Linked DNA regions of Homo sapiens: regions 1, 2 and 4 are each linked to region 3. The links are contacts of gene promoters, found by promoter capture Hi-C in blood cells and fetal thymus (Javierre and others, 2016). All regions are on one chromosome and are shown on one strand. Each heading gives the region's core, a stretch centred on a gene start or on the middle of the fragment in contact. The rest is flanking DNA. Distances are from core to core; before and after follow the strand shown. Region 1 overlaps UBA3 (ubiquitin like modifier activating enzyme 3). Region 2 overlaps FRMD4B (FERM domain containing 4B). Region 3 holds the start of MITF (melanocyte inducing transcription factor). Region 4 overlaps LMOD3 (leiomodin 3).

Region 1 (5,029 bases), core at 683-3,182, 670 kb before region 3:
TATTCCTTCCTACCTAGCACACAGTAAATACTTTTAAAATAAATGAAAATAATAAATCGTGTGCTTATTAGAAAAAAATCTGAAATTTCAAAGAAAAACACTTTAGCATGTCAATTTTTCTTTTCTTTTTTTTTGTTTGTTTGAGACAGAGTCTCGCTCTGTCACCCACGCTGGAGTGCAGTGGCACAATCTCGGCTCACTATAACCTCTGCCTCCCAGATTCAAACAATTCTCCTGTCTCAGCCTCCAGAGTGCTGGGACTACGGGCATGAGTCACTACGCCTGGCTAATTTTTGTATTTTTAGTAGACACAGGGTTTCACCGTGTTGGCCGGGCTGGTCTCGAACTTCTGACCTCAAGTGATCCGCCCACCTTAGCCTCCCAATGTGCTGTGATTACAGGCATGAGCCACCATGCCAGGCCAATTTTTTTTCTCTCCAATAAAGCACTGTTCTTTTTTGATTCAAAACTTTTGGTAAATGTTTTATCTTCACTTTGTACTAACTTACATAAAAAAGGCCCTGTTATAAATCAAAGAACTTAATTTCAGTATTGCATTCAATGGCTCCACACACAGAAAGCTCTTTTGGTTTGTAAAAGGGATAAAGTAGACTTCTAAGATTATTTTAAGTAATATATTCTATGTGCTTTTATGGCACGGCCCAAACAAAAGAACTCCTAGATGGTTTCTGGGAACTGTTTGTTAATTTACCATTCCAGGATGAAACAATCAGATTGCTCCACCTCAATAAAATGGCCTTTCACACACATCATCCTTGCAGGACACTCTGCCCAAATTATTTAACCTTGAACACAAGAACCTACCCTGAGGTTGCTGAGATTAAATGGAATAATATGGATAGTTTAGAAGTACTTGCTACATATCGTTATTACCATCTTCAACCATTTTAGCCACAAATTAAAGGGTATGGCCTGTATCAATAACAAATCAATTCAGTGGTATCTTTTTCAGAGAATTCACAACTCAAAATTTGACAAGCTGGACAGAGCCCACAAACTTTGCTATAGAGAAGGGAAATTTCAAAGGTTAAAAAATAAACAAAAAATAAAGCTTAAAAGTTAAACATTAAGGGTCACACTGCAATTACAACACTTCATTAACTTATTTTAATCCATACTTCAGTCCCATTAAGATCTTCCACAAAGATAATGTAGAGGTTTTATGCCTATCCAAAAACTTAATGTTACCTTTTTTGCTAGCTCAACTTTATCCTATATACCCAGAACAATTTGAGCACTGTCAGTAACAGATGCAAACTTCCTAAATAGAGAGAGAAAAAAAAAGTCCTTATCTCTGTGTATCTTTGACTAACAAATATACACTTTTACCTAAACTACTCAAACCCCTCAATATTACATACTAAATTCATGAATGAACATTTCTTCATGTCTGGATACATGGTCTACTTCAGTTTTTGTTTTTTGGGTTGTTTTGTTTTTGTTTTTGAGACAGGGTCTCGCTCTGTTGCCCAGGCTGGAGTACAGTGGCATGAACACAGTTCACTGCAGCCTCCAGATCCTGAGCTCAAACGATCCTCCTACCTCAGCTTCCCATGCAGCAGGGACCACAGGTGCACACCCGGCTAATTTTTTAATTTTTTTGTAGAGACGAAATCTCCCTTTGTTGCCCAGGCTGGTCTGGATCTCCTGGGCTCAAGCAATCTTCTCACCTCAGCCTCCCAGTGTTGGGATTACAGGTGTAAGCCACCATGCCTGGCCTCTACTTCTCTTCTTAAACTCATCTTTAACAAATCACTCCTTGATGTTCTCTATATTCCATATATGCCTAAGGTAACCATCCCTCTTTGTTCCATTCCAATTGGTTCTGGTTTTTCTCTCCTCGACTTTCCATTTTCTTTCCCCTTGTAGGAAAAGCTCAAACTCTTTCCCAACTTTATTGCTCCAGTCACCATTCAAACCTTGGCTCACAAATCCCTGCCAATCTCTCACTAGGGCCTAATACTCCAGCGAGTATTCTCTTCTGACATCAACTGGAGGAAGAGCTACCGTTCTTTCCTTTCTTCAGAGCACAGTTAACCTGAGGATATTCCCAAAAATCACATAAACCTTTGGAAGGAGACTTCTTCGAAAAAACAAAAACATGTATTTGTTTACATAACTACTATCACCAAGATGCCCAAAATTTTCTTACAAAACTTTACCTACAATGGGAATGGTAGTTTTTGTTTTTTAAAATAAAATTAGTATTATCCTCTCAAGTCATTTTTAAAAATTATTAAACTGCAATGTACAAGTTCAAATGATTATCAGAGCTTAAAAAAAGAAAACCGCTAAGATATTAAAACTTACCTAAATAAAAACTGCCTATTTAGATTGGAAACATCTATAGTGTCCATATCTATAACATGAATCTGTCTAAAACCAGACAAGGCCTGTGGGAATAAAAACAATCCAATTAAGCAGAAGTTTCCTCACATTTAAAAACGTAACATTTGTTTTCAATGTAGTCTTAAGTCTACAAATTCTCAGTAATAAATTCTGTGTAATTTGTATTCAATGGCTGAAAGACTCTTGCAAGGTATATAAAATTCAGAGTTCTTGAACAGGTCAAAAGTGTACAATCACTCAGTTTCAAATAATCTATAACCAAAAGAGAACAACTCAAAATTTCTACGGATTGAAACTATTTTACATATATATATAATTCCATAAACACATTTGTAAAATTTGTTGCTTTGCTGCTATTGATGGATACTTTAATTTTACTATGCTTGCTATTATTTTTTCAAAATATTGTTAAAAGCAATTCTACAAGCTTTATTTTAGTTTACTTAATATTAAGCATGCCACAATTCAGAAATGGTAACTATTATAAGACATATATTATAAAAACACACACATGGGTAGGCTGTATTTGTAAAAGGAGTATCTTAAAAGATATTGAATCAAGAGCATGCAATTTAAAAAGCAGGGAAAGGCAAAAAACAAAAAACCTGTTAGGTTTCCATAATAATGCCATGCATTCTGAACAGTACAACCACATTCAAATTTAGCAGCAGATGCAAAAAACTGAAAAAAATAAGTCTCAATAACTAACTTTTCTGGTCTTGGTCAGTTTACTTCGATGATCAAATAACTTGACAATAATTTCCTCATTTTTCTGTCCCCCTATATACCAAGAGATCTTCAAGACTTATCCATATTTGTGCTTTCAAAGTCCTGACTGTTCTCAAACTCCACAGAAACTGTACTTGTCAAGTTCACCAATAACCTCCGTGTTGCTAACTCCAATGACCAATTCTCAATCTATCTGACCTTACCTTTCTGAGGTATTAGGCTGGGTGGGTCACTTCCTCCACCCTAAAACATGTTCTTCAGTTGGTCACCACACTCATGAGAATTTAAACACTTTTTAAAAATTGGTTTCCAGTTCATTCAGTTTTCTTCCTACTTTACTGGCCAGAATTCGGAGTAGCCTTGTGCTTTGTTCTGGTGATCTCAGACCATCTTGTAAGATATAGACCATCTAGCAGACATCTCAGACTTAACAGTTTCCAAAACCAAACTTGATCACCCTTGCTCACAACAACCAAATCTGTTCTTTTCCAGATCTTCCTCATTGCAGTAACTTCCTCATTGCAGTAACTCCATCTTTCCAGGTGCCCGCCCCTAGAGCAAAAACCTTGTTGTATCATCCTCGATTCCTTTCTCTCACAGCACACCACCAATCCATCAGCTAATCCTGTTGATTCCATCTTCAAAATATATCCATAATCTGACCACCTGTCACCACATCCAATGCTACCATCCTGTTTCAAGTCACGTTGTCTCTTGTCTAGAGGACTATAATAATCTAATTAGTCTCTCTGTTTCTTCCCCCTCTCTGCTCTTCCCTTAGTCTATTCTCAATGCATCAGCCTCAGTAACCTAGGTGAAAAGCCAATCAAGTCTCTCATTGCATAAATCTCTCCAATGACTTCATGACTCAGAGTAAAAGCGACAGCACTTACAGTAACCTCCAAAGTCTTTTGTGATATCCACTCCAAGCCCCTCCATCTCCCATTATCTGTCTGATATGGTCTCCAAAAATGCTCCCCCAACCCACTTCTGCTCTAGCGATGATAGCCTCCTTGCAGTCCTTGAACAAACAGGAGTGCTCCACTTCACAGCTTTGTACCTGTTATTCTCTCTAACTAGAATATTCTTCCTACAGATAACTGTATGGCTCATTTGCTCACCTTTGTACTCAATAGCACCTTTTTGTAAACCTTTTCCCTTCACACCATTTGACATACTATATACTTACTTTTTCATTCAACTAAAATGTGAGTCCCACCAATGCAAACACCTTTCTGTATTTGTTCAATGCTGTATCTTCAGCATCTAAAATGGTGCTTGGCATATGGGATGGAGGCTCAATAAATATTTGCTCAATCAGTAATATTAGTATCTTTTTTTTTTTTTTTTTGAGACGGAGTCTCGCTCTGTTGCCCAGGCTGGAGTGCAGTGGTGTGATCTCGGCTCACTGCAAGCTCTGCCTCCCGGGTTCACGCCACTCTCTCGCCTCAGCCTCCCGAGTAGCTGGGACTACAGGCACCTGCCACCACGCCCGGCTAATTTTTTGTTTTCTGTATTTTTTAGTAGAGACGGGGTTTCACTGTGTTAGTCAGGATAGTCTCGATCTCCTGACCTTGTGATCCGCCTGCCTCGGCCTCCCAAAGTGCTGGGATTACAGGTGTGAGCCACCATGCCCAGTCTAGTATCATATTCTTTTTTGTTAGAATGAGCCTTTAGGGGGCTTACAATGAATTAAATAAGCAAAACAAGGAGTAAAATTGAAAACCCTTAGTTTTCTTCTTTTGTGTAAAAGATTACTATAATGCAATAAAGAAGAGGTCACTCCTTAAAGTTGCTTGGTGACTAATCTTCAGATCTAATCTTCAATTATTTTACACTTAAAATTAGTAAATGTCACATTTGCAAATAATGGCTTCAAAATTTAATAAGCTTTAGGAAACTTGTACATTTATAATACCTAACAAAAACC
Region 2 (5,264 bases), core at 1,971-4,470, 530 kb before region 3:
ATGCACCTGTAGTCCCAGCTACTCGGGAGGCTGAGGCAGGAAAATTGCTTGAACACAGGAGGCAGATGTTGCAGTGAGCTGAGATCGTGCCACTGCACTCCAGCCTGGGCGACAGAGTGACACTCCATCTCAAAAAAACAAAACAAAACAAAACAAAAACCCATATCTTAAATGCAAGGAGTAAAACTCTTGAGTATTTTCAGAAAAGTTTAGACAAAGAAGTTCTGGGTATTGGGAAATGTATAACGTAAAAACGAGAACACCTAAAAGGATGTCATCACACCCAAGTTTCCTCTGTGGCCGAATCTCTAACCTTCCAGAGCTGATGTAATGACATCCTGTTAAGACTCTCGTTAGCGTGCTCACTGATGTATTTGATGCCACCAGGGCTGAGCTACTGCTCTGGGCACCTGTATAACTATTATGGATATTTACAACTGGTATCCCTTCTTGTGGTTTTGTACCTAGTCTGGTTTTTAAATATTTCCAATAAAATACCTAATTTTGAATACATTCTTTCTTTCCAGATATATTGGCAGGTACTTGATGGCAGGGATTGTGGCTTTTTCCTTAAATGAGACAAAGAATATAAAGCACTCATTTAGGGCCCCTGTAAATGCATTGGGCTTAATACATTTTTTTTTGGTGGAGGGGAGCATAAAATCAGGTACATGGCACTCTATGGTTAGAAATGTAAAGATAGATGAATTTAACAACTTTAGCTTATCAGTGAAGCCTTGCTACCAAAAAAAAGTCCCAAACCAGCCAATCATTGGTCACAAGTATATAATAAAGAAACTTTGGACAAGCACAATGGCTCACGCTTATAATCCCAGCACTTTGGGAGGCTGAGGTGGGAGGATCACTTGAGGCCATGAGTTCAAGACCAGCTTGGGCAACATAGTGAGACCCTGTCTCCATAACAGAATTTAAAAAATTAGTGGGACACAATGGCACATGCCTATAGTCCTAGCTACTTGAGAGGCTAAGGTGGGAGGATTGCTTGAACTGAGGAGTTTGAGGCTGCAGTGAACTATCATTATGACTCTGCACTCCAGCCTGGGCAACAGAGTTAGAACCTATGTCTTTAAAAAAAAAAAAAAAAGAAAGAAAGAAAGAAAATAAATCTTTACTGTTTATGCCTCTTCATAGAACTATTTTTTACAGTGCTTTATGTACTAATTGCTTTTCTCTGCATTCAGACTAGTCAATCCTATTTATGAGCTATCTTTCATTTTTCTTCATGTGCCAACAGTTCAACCATGTGGTAAATGCTTAGACATGTAAAGGAATAGAAAAAACAATGGACAGTCAGGCACCGTGGCTCATGCCTGTAATCCCAGCACTTTGGGAGGCCGAGGCGGGTGGATCACGAGGTCAAGAGATCGAAACCATCTTGGCCAACATGGTGAAACCCCGTCTCTACTAAAAATACAAAAATTAGCTGGGCGTGGTGGGACATGCCTATACTCCCAGCTACTCGGGAGGCTGAGGCAGGAGAATCACTTGAACTTGGGAAGCAGAGGTTGCTGTGAGCCAAGATCGGGCCAATGCACTCCAGCCTGGTGACAGAGTGAGACTCCGTCTCAAAAAAAAAAAAAAGAAAAAACAATGGACATCTGATGGTTCTGCCTGTCTGGCAGCCACTTCCTTTTCTTCTAGCAGCATCTTCCATTTCTACACGGAACTCCGTAAGCTCCAGCTACAGTGGTGTGCAGTGGCGCCATCTTGGCTCACTGTAACTTCCGCTTCCTGGGTTCAAGCAATTCTCTTGCCTCAGCCTCCCAAGTAGCTGGGATTATGGGCACCCGCCACCATGTCTGGCTAATTTTTGTATTTTTATTTTTATTTTATTTATTTTTTTAGACAGAGTCTCACTCTGTCACCCAGGCTAGAGTGCAATGGTGTGATCCTGGCTCACTGCAACCTCCACCTCCCGGGTTCAAGCAATTCTCCTGCCTCAGCCTCCTGAGTAGCTGAGATTACAGGCACCCACCACCACACCCGGCTAATTTTTTGTATTTTAGTAGAGACGGGGTTTCACCATGTTGGCCAGGCTGGTTTCCAACTCCTCACCTCAGGTGATCTACCCACCTCGGCCTCCCAAAGTGCTGGGATTATAGGCATGAGCCACCACGCCTGGCCTAATTTTTGTATTTTTAGTAGAGATAGGGTTTCACCATGTTGGCCAGGCTGGTCTGGTACTCCAGACCTCAAGTGATCCGCCTACGTCGGCTTCCCAAAGTGCTGGGATTATAGGCTGAGCCACTGCAACCAGCCTTCTCCTGGGTTTCTAACATGCCTATCTCCTTCCCATCGGCATACCCTGTTCTTTGATGAGAACAAGCCATACTGTTCTTTATGAGCTTTCTGCCCTTCGGGTCTCAGGTTAAACATCACCTTCCTCAGAGAGGCTTTCCCTGAACACACCAAATGTCCCCTCCCTGCATCCCATTACTGTCCCCCATCTCATTTGTTTCCATCAAAGATAATTACAAATTTATGTCTTTATTTCTTTGCTTACTTGTTTCTCACCAACCATCCCTCCAAAGACTTCAAAGGAAACAAATACAGTGTGACAGAAACTACTGATCTCCCCTAGGATCTATTTTTCCTTATTTTTAGTAATAGAACATCTTGAGTTATGCCAGGCGCGGTGGCTCACACCTGTAATCCCAGCACTTTGGGAGGCTGAGGCAGGCGGATCAGGAGGTCAGGGGTTCGAGGCCAGCCTGGCCAACGTGGTGAAACCCCATCTCTACTACAAATACAAAAATTAGCTGGGCGTGGTGGCGTGCGCCTGTAGTCCCAGCTACTCAGGAGGGTGAGGCAGAAGAATGGCTCGAACCTGGGAGGTGGAGGTTGCAGTGAGCCAAGATCACGCCACTGCACTCCAGCCTGGGCAACAGAGCGAGAATCCATCTCAAAAAAAAAAAAAAAAGAACATCTTGAGTTAAAGCTTTGCCCAGGGCCACCCACCTAGAGACAATACCACCCAGCTGCCCTTGCACTCAGAGTTGGTACTTTCCAAATGACAGAGGAGCCTGCCTAGGCCTCCCTCTTTCCATCTTCTTCACCAATACCTAACCAATTTTCTAAAAGTTCCATGTTTTACGAGAACTGCTTAAAATTCTAATTGCGATCAACTATGGGAGGGGAAGAGAAAGACCATGCTGTACAATACACTTTCTATAAATTAAAGTATGGTGTGGAGGGGAAAATAACCCACTCAGTGAAATAACTCACTAACTCATTGGGTCCTCACAATGATCTGTGAGGTGGACAGCAGACAAGAGTTATCTCAATTTGATAGCTGAAAAAAATGAAGGCCCAGAAAGTTGAGTGACAGCTCTGAGTCAGCCAGCTGGTAAGTGGAAATGCAGAACTGGTTCTTATTTCAAATCCATGCTGTAGGATGGGAGTTCTCCTCCCACTGACTCTGCAGAAGGTTTTAACAATCAGATTGATTACTGGTGTGGTTAAAGCTTAGATACACACTTTATAAACAGGATGGACCAGTCTCTGGTTGACATTCTAAAATCCAATTATTTTCTTCCATACCATGCTTTATTTGGCATTAATGTAGAAAGAGAACAACCCATGTTCTCTTCTCCTACAGTTAATCTCATCTAGAATTTCAGCAGTGTCAGAAGTAGCTTCTAATCTAGGTCCAAGGTGGTATGGTCATGGTGGAAAGAAGAGCTTAGAAATGCTCAAGATAGCTGTGCTTAAAGAAATAACCAAGTCACTGTCTTTAAATAAAATAACCTTGTAGTTGTATGAGAAGAAAACAGGAAGACTTTTGTGCTTGTTACTTAATTCATTTGGCTTTAGGGATTTGGGAATTCCAATATATATAGAGACAGAAACAGAAAGCTAAGAGACTTTTCCCACCTTCACATGCCCTGTGGTGATGAAGTTCACCTCAAGTCTTTCTTGGCATGATATAAGGCAAAAAGATACTTATCTTGAGAAGCATTTTGTCCCACTATGGACACCTCGACAGTATGTCATTTTATCTCTGCCATCTGACAGGCTCTGGTTTTCCAGGGGAAGTATTTGCCGAAGGGATACAAATCTGTCATGACATAGACTAATACTTGGCTCAGTCTCTGACCCACTGTCTGCTTCTTTATGAAGAACAGACATTTTTCCTTGAAATACTGAACAATAAATACTTAGAAGGAACACAAGGCTGCTTTTTTTTTTTTCTTTAAGTGAAACTTCATCAGTCTCTAAGTCCAAATGTCTTACCATTTGGAATTCAGTTGAGTTCTGGTACGTTTTCACATTCTCTAAGAGTTTGCAATGACATATTCATACACAAAGGGAGGATTAAAAAGTAAAGCTGCTTATTGTCTTAATTTTTAATACCCTGAATGTTTGTGGTTTGTAATTTTGGATTAAAAATTTTTCCTTTAATTTGCGTCACACCTTCAGGCATGATGCTTAATGAATTAGGAGGTGAAAGAAGTGCTCACACATCTCCGAAAACAGAAAATTTGAGGGTGGAGGCCGGGTGTAGTGGCACACATCTCTATTCCCAGAACTTTGGGAGGCTCAGGCAGGTGGATCACCTGAGGTCAGGAGTTCGAGACCAGCCTGACCAACATGGTGAAACTCCATCTCTGCTAAAAATACAAAATTAGCCAGGCATGGTGGCGCATGCCTGTAATCCCAGCTACTTGGGAGGCTGAGGCAGGAGAATTCCTTGAACCCGGGAAGCAGGGGTTGCAGTGAGCTGAGCTGAGCTCGTGCCATTGCACTCCACCCGGGGCAACAAGAGTGAGTGAAATGCCATCTCGAAAAAAAAAAAAAAAAAGAAAGAAAATTTGAGAGTGGATTCTTAGTACACTAAAGCTGTGGGCTTGTAGCAATGTTGTGTCCCTCTCTAACCAGTGATCCAAGAATATTTCCCATACTCTTTTATTGTCTGTCTTCTCACTACTACTAATGATGATGGCGTATCAGCTATGGTGCTAAATTTGTCCTCTAGGTCTTACAACCACCCTACACAGTTGGTGGCAATACCCTTGTGCAGATGAGAAAACCACTTTTAAAGAGAGATTAAACAACATGCTCAAGGTGGCACAGTAAATAGACACCAGGGGCAGAGGTTGGGATGTCTCCCAAACTCTTTCCCTGCATCACTGTACTACACTACACACTGGTTGAAAACAACTTGTTGGCACCCCAGACTGGCAAAAAAAAGCCATATAAATAAAAGACTTGAAGAGCATCTGCTGGATGCCCTGGGAGGTCAA
Region 3 (5,037 bases), core at 344-2,843:
AAACTCCCACTTTCCTTAGGGGTGTTCTCAGGTATTCTGACATAGTTTAATAGTTTCAGGGGAGGGCCTAAAAGTCGTATGTTGGGGACTAATTTTTATTCTGAAAATTTGGTAATTGCTACTGCAACATAGTGTGCCTTCTGCACTTTTTCCAAATCACCTTGAGAACTCCAGCCCTAACATCGATCCATCCTACTGGATGTCTTTTCTGATGTGAAATTAAAATGTTTCAGTGGGAGGCAAGATATGCAAAGGGGTAACTCCTGGGAGGTGCCCAGTTGTCACTGTAGCCTCTTTAGAATTTTCTCCTAGGACAGTCATTTAGTTTATTAATTCTGAAAGGCCAAACACCAAAATGAGATGTTAATCTGAAAGGAATAACTTCAAGACCTAATAAAGAATGACCACTGAGCAGAGTTTTTATAGATTGCAAATCACTTTCTCTTACATTTGACCTTGCAACATCTTCTAAAACTGGTTTGCCAATCTCTTCTTTTATGGATGAAGAAATGGAGGCTTCTAGGAACCAAGTGACATGCTCAGGATTGCACAGCTCTTCTTAGAAGGACTGGGGATTTCAACTCTGAGTCTTATACCTTTAAATGCCACTGTAACTCTATACTGCCTCCCTGATGCCTCAAAACACTTTTGAAAAGAAGGAACACGTCCTACTGGAGCTAATCAGAGGGAAGAACTAGAAGTACAAATGAGCCACAACGGAGAGTTTTAAAATTCTCTTCCCTAAGTGAGTTCCGGGAAGCTCGGGAAGGGGTGGACACTTGTACAGTTCACTTGTACATCTTCACTCCTGAAATGCTAGGACAAATCTCATTTGAACTCCCAGTCAACTGAGAAATTAAAAGCAGAGAGCAACGACGCTATTTTGTAACTTTGTGCCTTTTAAAATTAACCGAATCTTTCAATTGCTGCTGTAGATTAGAAGTGGCTACTTGGATAAAGGGGAAAGAGCCATTCAACTGATGAATACTATTGTAAAAGTCCAGACTTAGTTCTAGAAAAGGAACGCACAAGAACAATTTCTCCAATAACGTTTTCATTACAGAGCGAAGGAAAGTTCTTCCTCGTTGTTCCAATCCGAGGACAAGCTGATATGTCGCAGCAGCCCAGGGAAGCATGCGAGCTGATAGGAAGTCCTTTTATTTTAAGACAGGCTCGAATGCTAAAACTTTCTTGTGCCAAAACCCTTGACTATTTTATTTTTAAAATAAGCACTTGGCGTGCCCTCGCAGATGTCTGAGCTGAGAGGTCGGGGCGATGGTAGAAGAGCAGTCAGTGTCCATTCTTATTCATATTAAGTAGCCAAGTCTGTACCCTTGAAGCAAGTGGGGAGAGAGGAGGGAGAGGAGCTGCTGACATTGACAATGAATCCAAACAGGAGTTGCACTAGCGGTGTCCACCACGTTGCCTCTCCCCCGCCTGGCCTTCTGGGAGCTGTAGTTTTCGTGGGAGCGGCTCCCCAGGCGAGCTGGGAATGCCCCGCCCGGGCCGAACTACAGATCCCAGGCGGCGCTCGGCCGCCAGCCCCTCCCGCCCGGGTGCGAGTGTAAACTCCCCGCGCTGGGGCGGGCGGCCGCGAGCCGGCGAGCGGGCAGAGCTCGGCACTGCGCCGGGGCGCACGGCTCGGGGGACCCAGGCCCAGCTACCTTCCCTCCGCCCCCGGGCTCTGTTCTCACTTTCCAGCAGTGGAAGGACGGGAAGCGGGAGCCATGCAGTCCGAATCGGGGATCGTGCCGGATTTCGAAGTCGGGGAGGAGTTTCATGAAGAGCCCAAAACCTATTACGAACTCAAAAGTCAACCGCTGAAGAGCAGGTGAGTGGTGACAGCTGGGCAGAGGCGCACCGGGCGGCTGGGGGGCACTGCGTCTGCCACTCTGGGGCGAGGAGAGCGGGTCGCGGGAGCTCTGGGACAAGGACCCAGTGCCCTTGCCCCGGAGCAGAGGGCGAACTGCCCCTCGCAGTTGGGGGCCGCGCCTGCCCGGCCCAAGTGCGCCTTTAGGAAGCTCGGATGGAGCGCACTTCGCGGGGGCGCGGCGGGTCGCCGGGGACGAAGCGTCCAGGCGCGGGGACCCTCGGCCGAGGATGCCAGCTGCTGAGACTGATTGGGGGCTGGGGAGCGACCTGGCGCGATGTGGGGGAGGAGGAGCGCCGGGCCGGGACGCTGTCCCGGTGGGATGGGGGAGAAAGAGTTCTAGTGAACCCCCTTTCTGAAGATCCCAGCGGGTTGAGGGCTCGGAGAGGGAGAGCTTTGGGTGGACTGAGATGCGACATTGGAGGGAAGCAATTAGTTCGCTTGGAGTCACCTCTTGGGAGTCCGGTCTCTGTGGGGAAACTAGCCTCTGGGCTCCTGCAGGTGAGGTTTCTCTGGGCTCCGCCTCTCACCTCCAGACCGCTGCTAGCGGGCGCGGGAGGGGCCAGGGCAGCGGTGGGCGTGTCCCCTTGTTCAAGTTAAACTCTCTGGAAATAGAGTCCCATTCAAATCCAGGCCTTACCTGCAGAGGGGAAATGAGCCTTGGTCTTGGGGGTTACTGGGAGTGTACCCCGCTTGGCAGAGACACGTGTTTAATTCGCTGGGGACTTCAGAAACTTTTTAGACGAGGAGTGAAGACATCCACTGCTCTGATGCCCCATCCCCTCTAGTGCCCACTTCCCTTGAGCCACCCTTTTTGCTGCCTCCATTCCCACTTGTCTGTCGAAATGGATTGGGTGTCTTCCGTTCTCTCTGTCCGGCAGCCACTCTGGACGCCTCGTACTTCTCGTTTACAATGTTTCCTAAAAGGGACATGGTCAATGGAGGCTGGAATAGCTGAGAAGGGTTTATTTCCACCCCTCTAAGCTGTGAGCTAGGATAAGGCTATCATTGGAAGCATCCAGCAGGGCTTCTGCACTCGGCTGTAACTTCCTGCCTTGCCCTTCGCTGTGGATGGGGCCTGGGTGAATGGGCCTGGCTGGCAGAGTGGGAGAGGGTCTTGAAATGAGGGTGAGTGGAGAAGGGCAACTGAACGGGGAGCCAAGTGGTGTAATCTTGGCCTCTGGCGAGCACTGGGCTGGTTCTTTTTCTAGTGGAAAGTGCAGCCAGGTTTATTTCCTTCAGGGCTGTGGCAGGACTCTTTATCCAAGTTGGGGAAGAAAATCTGGGAACAGCGGTCCTACTGACTGCCATTGCTGAAGACTCTTTGTAGATGCTTCACGGCAGATTGGAAGGAAACCGCCTAAGCAGTTGGACGTATAAAACCAGCCTTTAGTTGGTGGTTTTTCCTCATAATGGCTGTTTTGTGTGTGAGCATAGATTGTGTGTGTTGGGGGCTGGGGGTTTTGAGTAATATTGTGTGAAGGGTATTGTTGGTTATGCTCATCAGGGCTTTATCTGCATTCGGCTGAAGGGACCAGTGTTTTACTGGGCAGTCTCTGCTTTTGCTTCTATAAGCAAATGCTTACACGGCCAGAATGAGGGAATGAGTGTGTGTGTGGAATCCTGAAAGAAATAAATTAACCGGACTGTTTGGAACATTTCTGATGGTAGCTGATACATAACATTAAATCAGTTTGAGAGAGCGAGGAAAATACCATCTGGAAAAACCCAAATGAGTGCCGTGAAACTCATGTTGCACGATTTGGGCCTGTTCTTTTTCAGAGTCAGCAAAAAAGACTTGTAAGGGTGAACGTCCTCAGTAGCTAGCTAGCAGGCACGTGTAAGGGAAAATGTGGGTATGTGGGAAGAAATGGCTTCACACGTTAATGCTAGAAACAGGTGTGGGCCTGAACCAGCAGGGAAAGGAAGGCTAAATTAAAAAAGTTGTTGTAAAACTTGTATATGGAGCACACACATGCTCTTTGAAATAAACCAGTTAAATAAAATCTGTGAATAAATATATGGAGTTGGCAACATTTCTCTATACTGTTTTCCACAGTTGTCTAAGGTATTGTCGTCGACATCTGTTGTGTGACTTAAAAGGGCTGCACATTGTTCAGGGCCTTCTCTCTCATTGCTTTTTGTCTTATGTTTTTGCTGGGGCACCTCACTTCTTACAAGTCTTTGTCGGAAAAAGTTGAAATTGATATGTGAAGACTGCTGTAGCCGTTCTGCCTATCAACTGTCTTCTCTGGATTGTCCAGAGTTGTTAGAGTTGAAAATATGTCCAGAATCTGCCCGCTTCTTACCACCTCCTCTGCTACCACTTTGGTCCAAGCCACCATCAGCCCTTGCCTGGATTATTGCAGTAGTCTTTTAAACTGCAATACCCACATTTAGTGAATTTTCAGTATAGTAGCCACAATGTTCCTGTTAAAACTGGTTCTCAGTTGGAGGTGATTTTGCCCCTGGGGTCATTTGACAGTGTCTGGAGACATTTGTGATTGTTACAGTGGAAGGGATCATTACCCATATCTAGTAGGTGGAGGCCAGAGATGCTGCTAAACATCTTACAGTGCACAGGACAGCCCCCACAACAAAGGATTATCTGGTCCCAAATTGTTAGTAGTGCTGAGGTCAAGCAACTCTGTGTTAAACCTCAAGTCAGATCCTGTCATTCTCTGCCCAGAACCTGCCCATGGCTCCTAATTTCTCCCAGTAAAATTCAAGGTTCTTAAGATGTCAGCTCTGACCTTATCTCTTGTTGCCTGCCTCCTACCTCCCTCTGCTACAGCCAGGCTGGTCTCCTCACTGTTTTTGGAATACCCCAGGCCCTTCCACCACTGGGCATTTTTATATTGCACTTGCCTTGATCATCCTTTGCCCAGACAGACCCAGTGCTCACTCCCCCACCAACCAGTATGTGCCTGCCTCCAGGAGTCTTAAGAACATTAAGTGTGACGTTGACTGTGGGAAAGTATTAGCATGGTGCCTGGCACGTAGTAAGTGCTCAGGAAATGTTAGCAGATGTTGTTCTTGTTATTTTCTTTACAGTTCATTCTTTAAACATCATTCCCATCACACTGATAGTGTGGCCCTTTTTTGACCACAGTATTTGCGATTGCTGTTCCTCCAAATTCTCTGTCTTCTTTGTCCAGCTATATATT
Region 4 (5,297 bases), core at 921-3,420, 630 kb before region 3:
AGACAACTGGAGTGGTACTTACTGAAGAAACTCTCTGTATGTCCTAGAATAAGAAGCAATGATGTGCTGCTTCTGATTTTTCTTGCATTTTAAATTCTCAGCCAACCTACAGCCATGATCTTTAGCACAGTGATATCACCATGACTTCACAGACATGGTCTAGAATCTGTACCCTTACCCACATATGAAGAATAAAATTGATTAAAGGTTTTTTTGGTGAGACTTTATTTAATGCACATCTGTCTTAAATACCTGAGAAACTTGGCGACGACCCTATAAACAGTGAAGCAAACACTTCAGCTGTTTCAAATACTGTTTAGTAAAGCTTGAATACTTTATTAACTTGCAGCCAGAATAAAACAATTCCAGTGGGATCCTATTTTTAAACCTGGCACGAGTTTTATATACATGTTAGCCCAGTTTTATATACATGTTAGCCCATTCCATTTTCTACAAGGTGAATTCTGCCGATAAAATCCAATAAATTTGGAGAAACTAATAAAAAAAAAGATACCTGTAATTACTAATGGCCAGTAGTCAATTCTGGAAGGGTAATAACAGAAAAATGTAACATATAAATGTTGTAAATTATGATTACATTTAAAAACAAGCTAAAATCTGCAACTAAGATCTTTAGGGTTGGGTGGTAGAAAAAGCATAATGTGAACTGCTTCACCTCTTTTGGCAAAACCTGTGTATTGAGGCCATAAGCTATGAAATTGGATCATCTTTTCTTCTTGTATATCTAAGATAAAAACCCTCTTACTGTGCATTTTGAAATTCCTGACTTTAATAATACTGTGGCTATACAAACAAATGCATAGGGGCTTTCTAGAATTTTTTTTTTTTTTTTGAGATGAGGTTTCGCTCTTGTTGCCCAGGCTGGAGTGCAATGGTGCAATCTCAGCTCACTGCAACCTCCACCTCCCATGTTCAGGTGATTCTCCTGCCTCCCAAGTAGCTGGGATTACAGGCATGAGCTACCATGCCTGGCTAATTTTGTATTTTTTTTTTTTTTTTTTTTTTTTTTTAGTAGAAATGGGGTTTCACCATGTTGGTCAGGCTGGTCTTGAACTCCTGACCTCATGTGATTCACCCACCTCGGCCGCCTACAGTGCTGGGATTACAGGCATGAGCCACCGCACCGGCCTAGAATTTCAACTACTAATTTACATTAAGCTTTTAATTATGTTTAAAGTGCTTTTCCTATCAGAGTTTAGCCTCTTAGATGTAGTATGTGCTAGACACTTGAAGTTTTGTTTGTTACAGCCCTTTCTTAGCTATCCTGCTTTGTATGCAAGGATGTTTTCTAGAAATATTGAAGGGTGAGAAAACAAAACTATCAGCCATTGAAAACTATATTTAAATTTGGATACTTTTGTACATACTAAATTATCTTAAAAAAATAGAAACGCCATATTTCTTTCCCATGGCTTGTCTTTCCAAATAATGTGTTGTTTTTAAGTCTGTCACAATTAGACCTATTCTCCCCTAGCCTGTTTGGTTTGATACATGCCACTTATGATAACATAAAAGGAGAAAGAAGGCAGGTGCCAATTATTTACTCAGGTAAAGAAGAGAGAAAAGGCACCAAAGGTTTTTTTTTTTTTTTTTTTTTTTTTTTTTTTTTTTTTTTTTGAGATGGAGTATCACTCTGTCACCCAGGCTGGAGTACAGTGACGTGATCTTGTCTCACTGCAACCTCTGCCTCCCCAGTTCAAGCAATTCTCCTGCCTCAGCCTCCCGAGTAGCTGGGATTACAGGTGCCTGCCATCATGCCCAGCTAATTTTTGTATTTTTAATAGAGACGGGGTTTCACCATGTTGGCCAGGCTGGTCTCGAACTCCTGACCTCTGGAGATCCTCCCTCCCTGGCCTCCCATAGTGCTGGGATTACAGGCATGAGCCACCGCACCTGGCCCAAAGCTTGATTTTCTAATTTCTAGGGTTCACACTACTTCTATTATTACAAAAATCTCAAATTCTATGCACCTAGTGGCTAGAATGAATAATTAAGGCCTCTAGGAACTTGGAAGAAGGACAGATTGGAGTTGTCTGGAAAATTTTTTATGGAGGACACAGGATCTGACCCGGGAGTTGAAGACTGGGTAGGACGTTCATTAATGGAGAACAGGAGGGAAGTCTCTTGGAAGGATTAATGCGAGCAAAGGCACAAGGGTGTGCACAAGGATGTTTCATCGAGTAGAGTATAAAGGATTTGTGGGAAATAAGACAGGATTAGTAAATTGGGGCCAGGCAATGGAGTGCCTTAAAGAATAGGATAAGTAGTTCAAGTTTAATCCTTCCTGTAAGCAAGTTTCCTTTAAAATATGTTTGAGAGTGATAAAATCAAATTAGACTTACAGAGTAAACACATATGAGCGTGTGTGTGTGTGTGTGTATTTAGCCAAAACCAAAAGCTTGTCAATAACTATATTATGTAAAACTTCTTTTCTATAAAAACAGCATGCTGTCTCCCATTGTCCCTCTATATATGAAAACTTGCTGCCAGGAAGTTTTCATATATGCAGGGTTTACTTTCCCATTACTTTTCCTAGTGACACTTAGTTTTCACCATGTTCTGTGGCTTACGTGTTCTGCCCCTCACAGGTACCCCTATAGAAAGAATACTCCAAAACACCAAGGGAGTCACCAAGAGAGAAAGCCAGGCAGGGTGGGAAACTGAAAATCTCCACTGATTCTGCAGAGAAGCTCTAAGGAACAATCCTTCCATTTCAAAGCATCAGAAGGGCCAGGAGCTCAATTCATCCTTCACATTTCCATAGGATGAAACATTATTTGTTCCCTTTAAGATACTATGTGATGAATTACCGCAGAAGAGATGGAAGGAGAAAAAAATGGGAATACAATAGTTAACACTTCTGTTATATTTATTATTTACCAGAAGAAAACAATAATAAAGCAAATGTTTAAAAAATTTTCTTTAACTTCTGCTTCGGGAAATATGACTCTAAATTTCACCTGAGTCACTCAAATTGATTGCAAGTAGAAAATATTGCCTCTAAATATTATATTTTATCTCCTTCCACCTTCCTCTTCAGCCCCTACTTCTTCATGGCCCAAACATTCTGCCTTTTACAAATACCCTTATCAGATGGTAGCATTGTTTCCAGTTCTGCCACGTGGATCCTAAAGTATTGCTGCTGACATAGTCTCCATGCTGTAATCCAAGAGTCACTATTTCCATTTCTTGTTCTTCTAGATGGCTCTGTTGCCTCTTACGCCAGTTCTTTTGGCAGTTGCACCTGCGATTTAAGCATTTGAGGAAACGGGGGAAATTAATCCTGGAAATTTAAGAGCTTTGCAGCAAAATTTACAAAATTTACATGCCTTAAAAGATACAGAATAGGTTTGAAATTCTGGCCAAAGCACCTCCAAAATCAAGATAAAACAACAATCATAACCACAGCCACCATTTATTAGACATTTACTAATGCCAGGGACTGTTCCAAGAGCTTTGAGCACATGGCAAAGTAACATCATGGAAATAAGAGGGCGGGTGCCTAAGTTGGCCTGGGTTCAAAGACTGGCACTAGCATGTAGTAGTTATGTGGTGTTGGGCATCAGTTTTCTCAGCTGTAAAATGATAATAACAGTATCTAATTCACAAGGCTATTATACAAGTGAGTAATCCATGTTAACACTTTTTTTTTTTTTTTTTTTTTTTTTGAGATGGAGTCTCAGTCTATCTTCCAGGCTGGAGTGCAGTGACACCATCTTGGCTCACTGCAACCTCCAACTCCCGGGTTCAAGCGATTCTCCTGCCTCAGCCTCCCAAGTAGCTTGGATTACAGGCATGTGCCACCAATGCCCAGCTAATTTTTGTATTTTTAGTAGAGACAGGGTTTCACCATGTTGGCCTGGCTGGTCTCAAACTCCTGGCCTCAAGTGATTCACTTGCTTCGGACTCTCAAAGTGCTGAGATTACAGGCATGAGCACCCGGCCTAACACTTATTTTTAAAACAGTATCTCATTACATCCTACAAAAGCCTTGTAGGGAGAGAAATGGCTCAGAGAAGACAATAACTTGCCTAAGATCATACAGCTAGGAAGTGGCAGAGCAGGATTTGAACCAGGTCTGCCTGATTTCAGTGCTCATTATTATACACTGCCTGTAAAAATATCACTATAAGAATATAAAATATATGTTCTTTTTAAAACATGTCTTTCCTCTTTGAAGCACACTCCTAATCTGATGGTCAGAAATATTTAAACATGAAATATAAGCCAGGCAAGGGGGCATGCACCTGTAATCCTGGCTACTCAGGAGATTGAGATGGGAGAATCACTTGTGGCCAGGAGTTCGAGACCAGCTTGAACAACAAAGTGAGACCCATCTCACCTTGTTAGGATTTTTATTTTATTTTTTTTAGACAAAGTCTTACTCTGTCACCCAGGCTGGAGTGGAGTGGCATGATCCCGGCTCAAGACAACCTCTGCCTCCCAGGTTCAAGCGATTCTCCTGCCTCAGACTCCCAAGTAGCTGGGACTACAGGTGCATGCCACCACGCCCAGCTAATTTTTGTATTTTTAGTAGAGACGGGGTTTCACCATGTCGGCCAGGCTTGTCGTGAACTCCTGACCTCAGGTGCTCCACCCACCTTGGCCTCCCAGAGTGCTGGGATTACAGGTGTGAGCCACCGCACCCAGCCACCTGATTTTCTTAAAAGAGTTTTATAACAAGGCTGGGCGCGGTGGCTGACGCCTGTAATTCCAGCACTTTGGGAGGCCGAGGTGGGCGGTTCTCCTGAGGTCAGGAGTTCAAGACAAGCCTGGCCAACAGGGTGAAACCCTGTCTTTACTAAAAATACAAAAATTAGCTGGGCGTGGTGGCACGTGCCTGTAATCCCAGCTACTCAGGGAGCTGAGGCAGGAGAATTGCTTGAACCCGGGAGGCAGAGGTTGCCTTGAGCTGGGATCCCACCACTGCACTCCAGCCTGGGCAACAGAGACACCATCTCAAAAAAAAAAAAAAAATATATATATATATATATATATATTTAAAGCATCCCCCAAGACAAAAAAAAATTATAAAACAACAACAGAAGTCCAACACTGCAAACCCACTTCATACTTCTGCCTCATAGGAAAACCTTAAGGACAAAGCAAGTTTTTAAAGGGTTTCAAGTGTCATTGTATCTTAGGAAAGTAACTCATCAACTCATCCATCATGTATGTACCTTCCAGAGGACACTGAAGATGCCCAGTGTCCCCAGGGCATTTGTATAACAATGACTAGGAATGTTTCTCCCTGTATTGCTAATGTCCACCTGCCA

What was found. The method cuts DNA at HindIII sites, captures the fragments that hold promoters and counts their contacts. A CHiCAGO score of 5 or more calls a contact.
Region 1: a fragment that was not itself captured here is called in contact with the fragment with the promoter of MITF in region 3 in 1 of 17 cell types (erythroblasts); the score reaches 5.1 in erythroblasts.
Region 2: a contact is called between a fragment that was not itself captured here and the fragment with the promoter of MITF in region 3, in 1 of 17 cell types (monocytes). The highest score is 8.7, in monocytes.
Region 4: a contact is called between a fragment that was not itself captured here and the fragment with the promoter of MITF in region 3, in 1 of 17 cell types (monocytes). The highest score is 6.0, in monocytes.

What each region holds. Positions count from the first base shown.
Region 1 is chr3:69,069,204-69,074,232 of GRCh38, forward strand. UBA3 (ubiquitin like modifier activating enzyme 3) reads right to left here. Exons shown (of 18, transcript NM_003968.4): 5 at 2,332-2,414. Among named protein-coding and RNA genes, the nearest start is that of UBA3, 8.6 kb to the right of the region's middle. The HindIII fragment of the contact is 1,725 bases long and covers 1,071-2,795 here.
Region 2 is chr3:69,206,219-69,211,482 of GRCh38, forward strand. The region is part of intron 11 of FRMD4B (FERM domain containing 4B); the gene reads right to left. Among named protein-coding and RNA genes, the nearest start is that of LMOD3, 86 kb to the left of the region's middle. The HindIII fragment of the contact is 526 bases long and covers 2,958-3,483 here.
Region 3 is chr3:69,737,871-69,742,907 of GRCh38, forward strand. It overlaps MITF (melanocyte inducing transcription factor), which reads left to right and starts at 1,594. Exons shown (of 10, transcript NM_001354604.2): 1 at 1,594-1,831. The coding sequence starts at 1,728. RefSeq lists a promoter at 1-1,730 and a silencer at 1,530-1,829. The HindIII fragment of the contact is 10,451 bases long and covers 1-5,037 here.
Region 4 is chr3:69,105,857-69,111,153 of GRCh38, forward strand. LMOD3 (leiomodin 3) reads right to left here. Exons shown (of 3, transcript NM_198271.5): 3 at 209-3,265. The coding sequence ends at 3,239. ARL6IP5 (ARF like GTPase 6 interacting protein 5) reads left to right here. Exons shown (of 3, transcript NM_006407.4): 3 at 1-236. Among named protein-coding and RNA genes, the nearest start is that of LMOD3, 14 kb to the right of the region's middle. RefSeq lists an enhancer at 5,036-5,297. The HindIII fragment of the contact is 494 bases long and covers 1,924-2,417 here.